Linked DNA regions of Homo sapiens: all the other regions are linked to region 3. The links are contacts of gene promoters, found by promoter capture Hi-C in blood cells and fetal thymus (Javierre and others, 2016). All regions are on one chromosome and are shown on one strand. Each heading gives the region's core, a stretch centred on a gene start or on the middle of the fragment in contact. The rest is flanking DNA. Distances are from core to core; before and after follow the strand shown. Region 1 overlaps CENPC (centromere protein C). Region 2 has its middle 55 kb from the start of TMPRSS11B. Region 3 holds the start of GNRHR (gonadotropin releasing hormone receptor).

Region 1 (2,700 bases), core at 64-2,563, 260 kb before region 3:
ACAAAAAAAGTAAAATATACATGGGAAAGACAAAATCTTGAAACAAAACTCCTTAAATTTAATATGGCACATTTCCTTTCAAAGTACCAAAGAATATATGTCTGCAGCTAATAGTTAAAATAACACAAATACCAACCAATTTCATTATATCTCTACCACCCTAAATCAGAGGCTGATAAAACAGGATTAGATGATGAAACATGATTAGATGGTCCTATTGCTCCCCTGAAATCAACAGTCATCAGTGGAGGCTTTTAAAAAAAAAAAAAAAAGGAGGGGGCTAGCAATGAACTATTTATAGAAATCCACATGAGTTTAGTCCTTTGACTTAGATATATCCATCAAAGAAAGAAATATGGCCAGGCACAGTGGCTCACACCTGTAATCTCAGCACTTTGAGATGCCAAAGCGGGAGGACTGCTTGAGCCCATAAGATGAGACCAGCCTGGACAACATAGCAAGGCCTCATCTCTACAAAAATAAGAAAGAAAATAACTCTACGATTAACACTACACTTTCTTGCCCACCCTACACTACTTTGTAGAAAACTATGAGAAAATGGAAAATGGTTAATAGGAAAAATAATGAAAACTACTTTACCTTTACCAGTTACAATTTTCTCACGTTCTAATCTAACGCTTTATATTATGCAATTGGAAATCTTGTCAGATGATACAGGAATAACAACATTCAGCTACCAAAGAGAAAATATCAGCATCTCTACATTAATCAGACAAAAATGAATTTAAATCCTATTATCAAAATTTGGGGGGGTGATGATTAAGTAAGGTAATGTATATAAACATGTAGTGCAGTGTCTGGCACATAGTAAACAAATTTTTTATTGACAGATATTATAACATAAATAAGTTTTACCTGATGGCCTTCCTTGATAATCTATTCGCTCTCCTCGCCAGTACTCCAAAGGTTTCAAACGTGTTCTCTTGGTCCTGCGAACATTTGGTGTGTTGGAGGGCAATACTATAAAAAGATGTCAGACAAAAGTGTATACATAGTTTTTAGTTGATGGTACTTAGCAGTGGAAAGACTGTCTTTTAGAACATGAAAGCTTTATTTTTTAGAACATGAATATTTTTCTAGACAAAAGACTAGAAAAAACAAATATTTATGCTAACAATTAAAGAAAAGCCAATGGAAAAACAGGCTACCAAATTGGCAAATATTTAAAAACCTAATAATACTCAGCGTTGACAATGTTAAATGTACACTCATCTTATCTGAACAATGCAAAGTTCTGTATACTAAATTGAGTTTGTTGGCTTATCTTCAAATTCCCATGTTCTTACCTATTTTTTGTTTGCTAAAGCTATGCTGAAGCTAACGAGAAGTTGCCTACTGCTCTTAGGCATAATGCTCAATGTTCCCCTCTGTAAATACTGAAGCCCTGCTCAGGAACATTTTTATTTCCCTTTCCCTACTCCTGATTCATCATTTCACCCCAAGACAAGCATTAAGTATTGAGAGGTATAGCAGTCTCTCATCACATAGGCCCACAAAATACTGACAATATCTAAGTTCTGGAGTAAGGCAATGAGAGAAAGCTTCACTCCTATTGGTAATCTGAGTATGAGTGAAAGAGCACTCACAGCCTCAAATAAAGGGAGAAACATGGAAAGCCACCCAACATCACAGAAAGGTGGGAACTATCATGTATCTTGACTGGCAAATATCTCTTTGGGAACCATGGATTGTTAATCTTTACATGGGCCTCTCCATGGGTTCCACAGTTCTTAGCTTTGTCTACTTACTATCCTAGCTACTGCTTTGTTTAGGAGTCAACTGGATTAAAGTGGAAGGAGATGCTGTCAAGGAAGCCATCTACCTGGTAGTTACAGTTTCTTTGACAAAATTCTCCACCCTAGCTTCATAGCTAAGGGAGGATCATGCCCCCTACTATGGGGCAAAAAGTGAGAGGGCAATAGGATTTATAAATGGACAATAGACTAATTCAAGTGGCTTGTGGTGACTTACTATGAAATTCATAAAAACTAAGTGCATAATTTTAATTTATCTGCCAATTAATCCACATAATCGTATTTCTCCTGCTTAAGAAGAAATAAGTTATATTTAGAAACAGAAACTTAAGGTATTTTTCTCAATGAAAATATTAAAAAAGAAAAATATTCTTACCTAGTTTGTGATGGATTCTGTTCTTTGGTATCACTTTAGATTGTTTTGAGTCATCTACAAAATGCAAAAGATAATATCATAAGAAATGACTGCTAATTCCATGTTAAATTAAAATGTGTTTCCTGGTCAATTTCAGTATGAGTATTTTAAATAAAGTTTGACCTGATAATGTATTTTATTACTCCTTTTGCTTTTCATTGCTCAACTATAAAAACTAAGGAAAAGAACTATTTCTCTAGACTTTGCTACAATGAATACATTGCAAGTTTGTCCAATCCACCTTATTTTGTGGTTGTTCTGTTTTGTTTTGTTTTAGACCTTTAGCAGCCTGAAACCATGCTTTTTAGTTTCTGTCTCTGGCGACAAGTGGAAAAGAGGGATGAGGAAGGGGTTTTATTGGACCAACCAGAAACAGAAACTAAGAACTCATGACTGTATTCGCTCCCTTGGACACCCCTGGTTTTTATTCTAAACAGTGTAACAGTTAAAACAAACAAACAAACAAAAAAAACAACAGATTTTCTATTGCTCATGGAAAGATGAAATAAG
Region 2 (2,700 bases), core at 116-2,615, 440 kb after region 3:
CAGAATAATTGATGGCAATAATATTAATTAGCATGGATTGGGCATCTGCTATATTCCAATGTACTTTGTATTACGTAGCCAATGTACTTTGCTATCACATTTATTAGCACAGTCTCCACAACAATCCTGCAGCATAGGTGTTATCTTCATTTTATAGACAAGGAAAAATTGAGGCTCTGGGAAGTTATATAATGTATTCAAGAGTAAGTACACACTACACTAGGATTTAGATTTAGTGCAGTTGACTGCATAACCTGGGCTCTTTACAGAGCTGTCTGTATGCTGTACACTGTCACTCTGTGCCTAGTCATACAGTAATGGCAGTGTCTAGGAGATTGGGCTCAACCAGAAGAGGATCTTTAATGCTAGCTGAGGGGTAGCAGTGATGGAAAGTTGTTGAGGTAAACTGTATTTGAGGAAAATTAATCTGACCATGAGTTTTAGGGAAGATTTGTCTGGAAACAGGAAAAGGGCAGTCAGCCTGAGGAGCTAGCCAATTAGACACGCAGGAATTGTTAAGGAGTCCTGAAGCTTGTGTCTGAAGTAACATTATTATGCTTTGAGGCTTCCTCAGGGATGTTCAATATTTTGGCACATAAATCAATAATAATTCCTGGGAAGCACTCAGGTCACATAAGTTTGATTATTATAGCAGTGTATGCTAAAGTGAAAAGCTTTGTCCTGTGACCTCTTCATGACTGCCTTTTGGCCCATGCTGTTTATAGATACTTGAATTTACATGCATGGGAAAACAAAACAGAGACATCTCCCGTGGTTGCAGTCATCTCTGAGAGATATCTGGGCCCTTCAACTTTAATCTCACATTTATGTTCAATACCAAAATTGACCTCCAATGTTAATGCTAGTTGAGAGCTTAATCTGTTCTACAATTCCAGGAGTCCCATGAGCAGGGAAGAAGAGCAGACATAGTCCTGCGACACTGATGGAAATAAAAGCAATAATTGCCTTCATCTGAAATGTGTTTATTTGTGAGTGTTTCCACACATATTTTCTTTTCTTTTTTATCCTTAGTACTGTTCTGTGAGTGAGGCAAAGCAAGTATTACTACTAACATGTAATGAGATAGTGGAACAGATTCAAAGCGATACAGTAACTTGCCAAAGACTCTAGGGCTATTAAATGGCAAAGGCTAGGCTCAGGTTGTCTAAATCTATTCTATGGTTACCTCGGCTAGTTCATGCCACTCCAAACCCACATGTAGGGAACACAGCATAGCTATTTTACTTCTTATTATGGTGACTAGAAGGTTTTCTTGATCTCAAAGTCTAGTGTAAATATGCTGTCTCCTAACCTGTATCTACTAAGAATTCTAGGGGTATTTCCACAAAGTGTTTAGCTGACTTGCAAGTCAAAAGACAGGAGAAAACAGGATCTATATTTATGCTACTGCTAAATAAAAATTTTAGAGCATCAAACATTGGTCTATGGGACTATCTAATGTTTTCTGAACATAAATATTTAGGAAACCAAAAGGATGACACATTTATAATTTGAGGATTAATGTATCCTCAATACATCTAGTGAACTCAACTATATGGCCCCAATCTTAGGTTTCATATTGAAAAATTAGTCTGACATTTATGATAATGCTTGATATTCATAGCTTATTGGCTAAGGACTATAACATATCAATAGATTCTTTTCACAGAGAAATTTGAAGTGTCCTGGTATGTATGATCAGTTGATCTCTTTTTTGATGGTTAATGTTGGTTACTTACACCAGTGTGATGACTTGAGAAAAGATATATTGTCTGTAAATGCTAGAACTTTGAAATGCATCAACCATCTGTTAACAGAGAAAATAGAGTCAAATATCAAATTCCAGTACTTATATTTCAGAGAATTAACAATGAAATATAGGAAAATACTAACTTACCTAGTCTCAAGAATTTGGCTAAGATAGTTATTTTCTGGTGATGTCTCCCTTTCATAATTGCTATTATATGGGATATCCAGCATTTTAAAGCTACCTTGGTAGAAGTAGATCCTGTTTGCTGTGAGATCAAGAAATGATCCAAGAATTATTTAAATTAAATAAGCTTCAAATCCAGATATAGATTACACAGCAATAACAACTAGTATGTATTGTGCTCATATTAGATATTGATACACTCTTTGGGTACAGTTGACTAGATCATCTAGGCATTGTGTTTACAGGACCAAGTATGAGATAGATATATATTTATATTATGTGATATAAATATATATTATATATATCTATATTCCTGTTTCAACCAATATGTTACTTTGTCTGAACTTTGAGATATATATATCAATCATAAATAGACAGAGATAAGAGAATGTTTGAGATAGTAGATGAAGATATAAAGTTCAGACAGAGTAAAATGTTGGTTGAGACAGGAATATATACTATAAAGAGATTTCCATCTATAGTAATCAACTGTCAGATTATGAATAAAAATAGTTACCATGTAAGTATCTACTATGTGAAGATACTTTAGAAAAACTTTATGAAATGTATTAATCGTTCAGAAGTGTAGTCTCAGAGAGACTAAGTAATTTACCCAAAATTATACAGCCACTAAGAAGAGCCAAGTATCAAAACTCAATTTGTCTGACTCCAAAGCCTATACTTAAGCTATTATATTTCCTTCCTAAAATTTCATAGATATTAAGCTGCTTGACATATGACATGTGTTATCTCCAATGTGATGCATA
Region 3 (2,770 bases), core at 172-2,671:
AAACTTGTTCATCTGCTATTAACATTCTTTGTTATTTTCAAGAATTTGTCCTTTTCTTCGGGGATCTGATTGTTAAAATGGCAGGTTCAGCAGGTCAGTTAACTAGGCTGCTTCTGGTGAAGGCAACCTGGAAAGATAATTGCCCTCTGTGGGGAGGGCCTGTGCCTACTCTGTCAGTCATATGGCTTTCTCAATAAGCTGCCTCCAGCAAAACTCAAGCTAACTTTAGGGAAATATTTGGATTTCCAAACATCCAAGATGTCTTACTTTTCTTCTATATTCAGTCCCACTTAGCTGCAAACTGCAGAGCAACATACTAACAAAGAATAATTCTCTCTAAGCTGCAGTGACAGAATTCTTAAAATTTCCACTGAAGAAACCCTAAATAAGAAACATTATAAATATTTTCTACCTAGGCAAATTTCATAATTCCTAAAAATTATCTCAACTAAACATTAAAGCCATGTCAACCAAAACAAAAAGAAAAACAGATAAAAGAATAGGATGGAGATAAGGTCAAGTTTGAGAATCGCATTTTTTTTGGGGAAGCATTTGCTACATAATAGAGATTATGTGAGCTACTTTATTTATTTATTCATCACAAAAGCAGTATTAAGTAAGCATTAACCCCCATGTTACATTTTATCGGTAAAGGAACTGAAACCAGAGAGGTTAAGAAGTTTGCCCAAGGTAACAGAACAGAGCCAGAATTAAACTTCACTCTCTGACTTCCAGAACCCAAGCTCTTAAAGGTAATACAGTACTTCCTTTGATAAGACCTTATATCAAATTTAGATAGGAAATCTATGATCACCATATCCAAATAAGTTTGTGTATAATGGCTTACCTGTGGTCCTGCAAAGACACTACTGAGGATCCAGGCCAGGCCAACCATGGACTGTCCGACTTTGCTGTTGCTTTTCAAAGCTAGGGGCCTCGTGATAGCCAGGGAGCGGTCCAGGCTGATCACCACCATCATGAAGGCTGGGGCATACATGGAGAAAAGCTTTAGATAACTGAGAACTTTGCAGAGTAACTCTCCAGCATACCATTGGACTGTAATGTTCCACATCCCATCCAGTGGCATGACAATCAGAGTCTCCAACAGGTTGGCTAAGGTCAGATGTTTTAAGAGCAGCTTCATTCTTGAGAGCTTTTTCCCTTTCTCTTTCTTCTGTGTCCACTTCTGAAGTTTCAACAAGAAAGAAGCATTAAAGGTCGCAGAGAGCAGAAAAAGGAAGAAAGTAACCGTCACTCGGATCTTTCCAGACAAGGTCAGAGTGGGGAGGTTGCCCTGCATCAGTGGGATGCTGTTGTTGATGGCTGAACAGTGATTTTGATTCTGTTCAGGAGAGGCACTGTTTGCCATATTTTCCCAGGACAGAGCTTCAAGCCTTGTGTCTCTGGTGCATCTGATATTTTATTGTAACCGAATCTAAAGTCCTGTTTTATTTCTGCCTTCTTTAGATGGAAACGTCACAGGTTTAGACGTATGTCAAATTTTGTCCCTGAGATACTTAATGTGAAAGATCAAGGTTAACTTGTTTTGTGTATTGGTAATCCAACAGAGTGCTAAAACAGAGCAGGCCAAATGCATTCTGAGGGCCACATGTAACTGTAGCACCTCAGCAGATGGTCTGGCTTTCACAACACTCTTCCTAAGTGAAGAAGGATAGTCACAGCCTAATTTTGAATTTAAAAGTCAGTCATGATATTATGATTTAAATAACTTTAAAAAATTTTTCTAAAAACTATTTAGTGTTAGTGTTCTGTCCAACATACAGATGTATAATGATAATGAAGAAAAATGAAAACAACTAGATCCAATTAAAATCCATTGTCTTAAGGAATTAACACATTTCTCAAAAACATTTCTTTGTTTTCCTTTTCAAACACACTGTTGAGCACTCGAACACTGGACAAATATATTCACTTAAAATTATTCTACAACAAATTAAAACTTTAAATTAGAATCAATCCAACTGACTGCATTCAAATTTATTAATCAATCTTACTGATCCAATCCATGCTTAAGTTAGAGTAAAACGGTTAATCAGTTTTTAAATTATTGCCTTGGTTTTTATAATTATCTAAATATTGTAGTTGCTGTTATTACACATTAATGCATAAGGAAACTAGTTATTGAAGAGAATACTGTGTAACTGCTGTAAGTGCATTTATATGTGTTTATGTTAGTATAATATGAATATGTTCTTTTATAGGTTATCTGATCATTTCAAATTGGGACCACTTAGGAACTTTTTCTGTGTTGTTTCTTTAACTTTCATGGTGAGTGCTGGATAGTTATTCATCAATACTGGTAAGACTTACATTGGAATTTATTAAATCACCAGCTTGATTTGTCTAATGCCAACAAGTTTGCTTCTGCAGCAGCCAAAGCAGGTACAATGTTAAGGATAAAAGTGGCTATTTTGACTTAGATGGTGCATTCTTATTGGTTCATTTATTATACTTGTTTATTCTGTCTTAAATATTTATTTATTTAATAAATAGTTACTAAATATTTACTATATACATTATCTTAGCCTTTGCTGGTGATAAAAAGTGAACACAACATCATCCAGCCCCTTTAAGGAGCTTGTTACCACAGAAGGTTAGATAAATGTTTTAGATATATCTTATGTATCTCCTCAGCTTCTCTGTGTACTGGCTGTCTCCTGAATCTTGAGCAGCTTAGACCAGTCCTGTACCTGAGCTCCTTTTTGACTGTCACTATATGTCCAGAATTACCAGCTTCTCTCACTACTTC

The links. The method cuts DNA at HindIII sites, captures the fragments that hold promoters and counts their contacts. A CHiCAGO score of 5 or more calls a contact.
Region 1: a fragment that was not itself captured here is called in contact with the fragment with the promoter of GNRHR in region 3 in 4 of 17 cell types (fetal thymus, naive B cells, total B cells and 1 more); the score reaches 6.2 in fetal thymus.
Region 2: a contact is called between a fragment that was not itself captured here and the fragment with the promoter of GNRHR in region 3, in 1 of 17 cell types (neutrophils). The highest score is 5.2, in neutrophils.

The regions. Positions count from the first base shown.
Region 1 is chr4:67,493,008-67,495,707 of GRCh38, forward strand. CENPC (centromere protein C) reads right to left here. Exons shown (of 19, transcript NM_001812.4): 13 at 2,152-2,205; 14 at 877-981. Among named protein-coding and RNA genes, the nearest start is that of CENPC, 51 kb to the right of the region's middle. The HindIII fragment of the contact is 493 bases long and covers 1,068-1,560 here.
Region 2 is chr4:68,189,510-68,192,209 of GRCh38, forward strand. It overlaps the pseudogene FTLP10 and the pseudogene TMPRSS11BNL. Among named protein-coding and RNA genes, the nearest start is that of TMPRSS11B, 55 kb to the right of the region's middle. The HindIII fragment of the contact is 1,386 bases long and covers 673-2,058 here.
Region 3 is chr4:67,752,967-67,755,736 of GRCh38, forward strand. It overlaps GNRHR (gonadotropin releasing hormone receptor), which reads right to left and starts at 1,422. Exons shown (of 3, transcript NM_000406.3): 1 at 848-1,422. The coding sequence starts at 1,369. The HindIII fragment of the contact is 5,914 bases long and covers 1,005-2,770 here.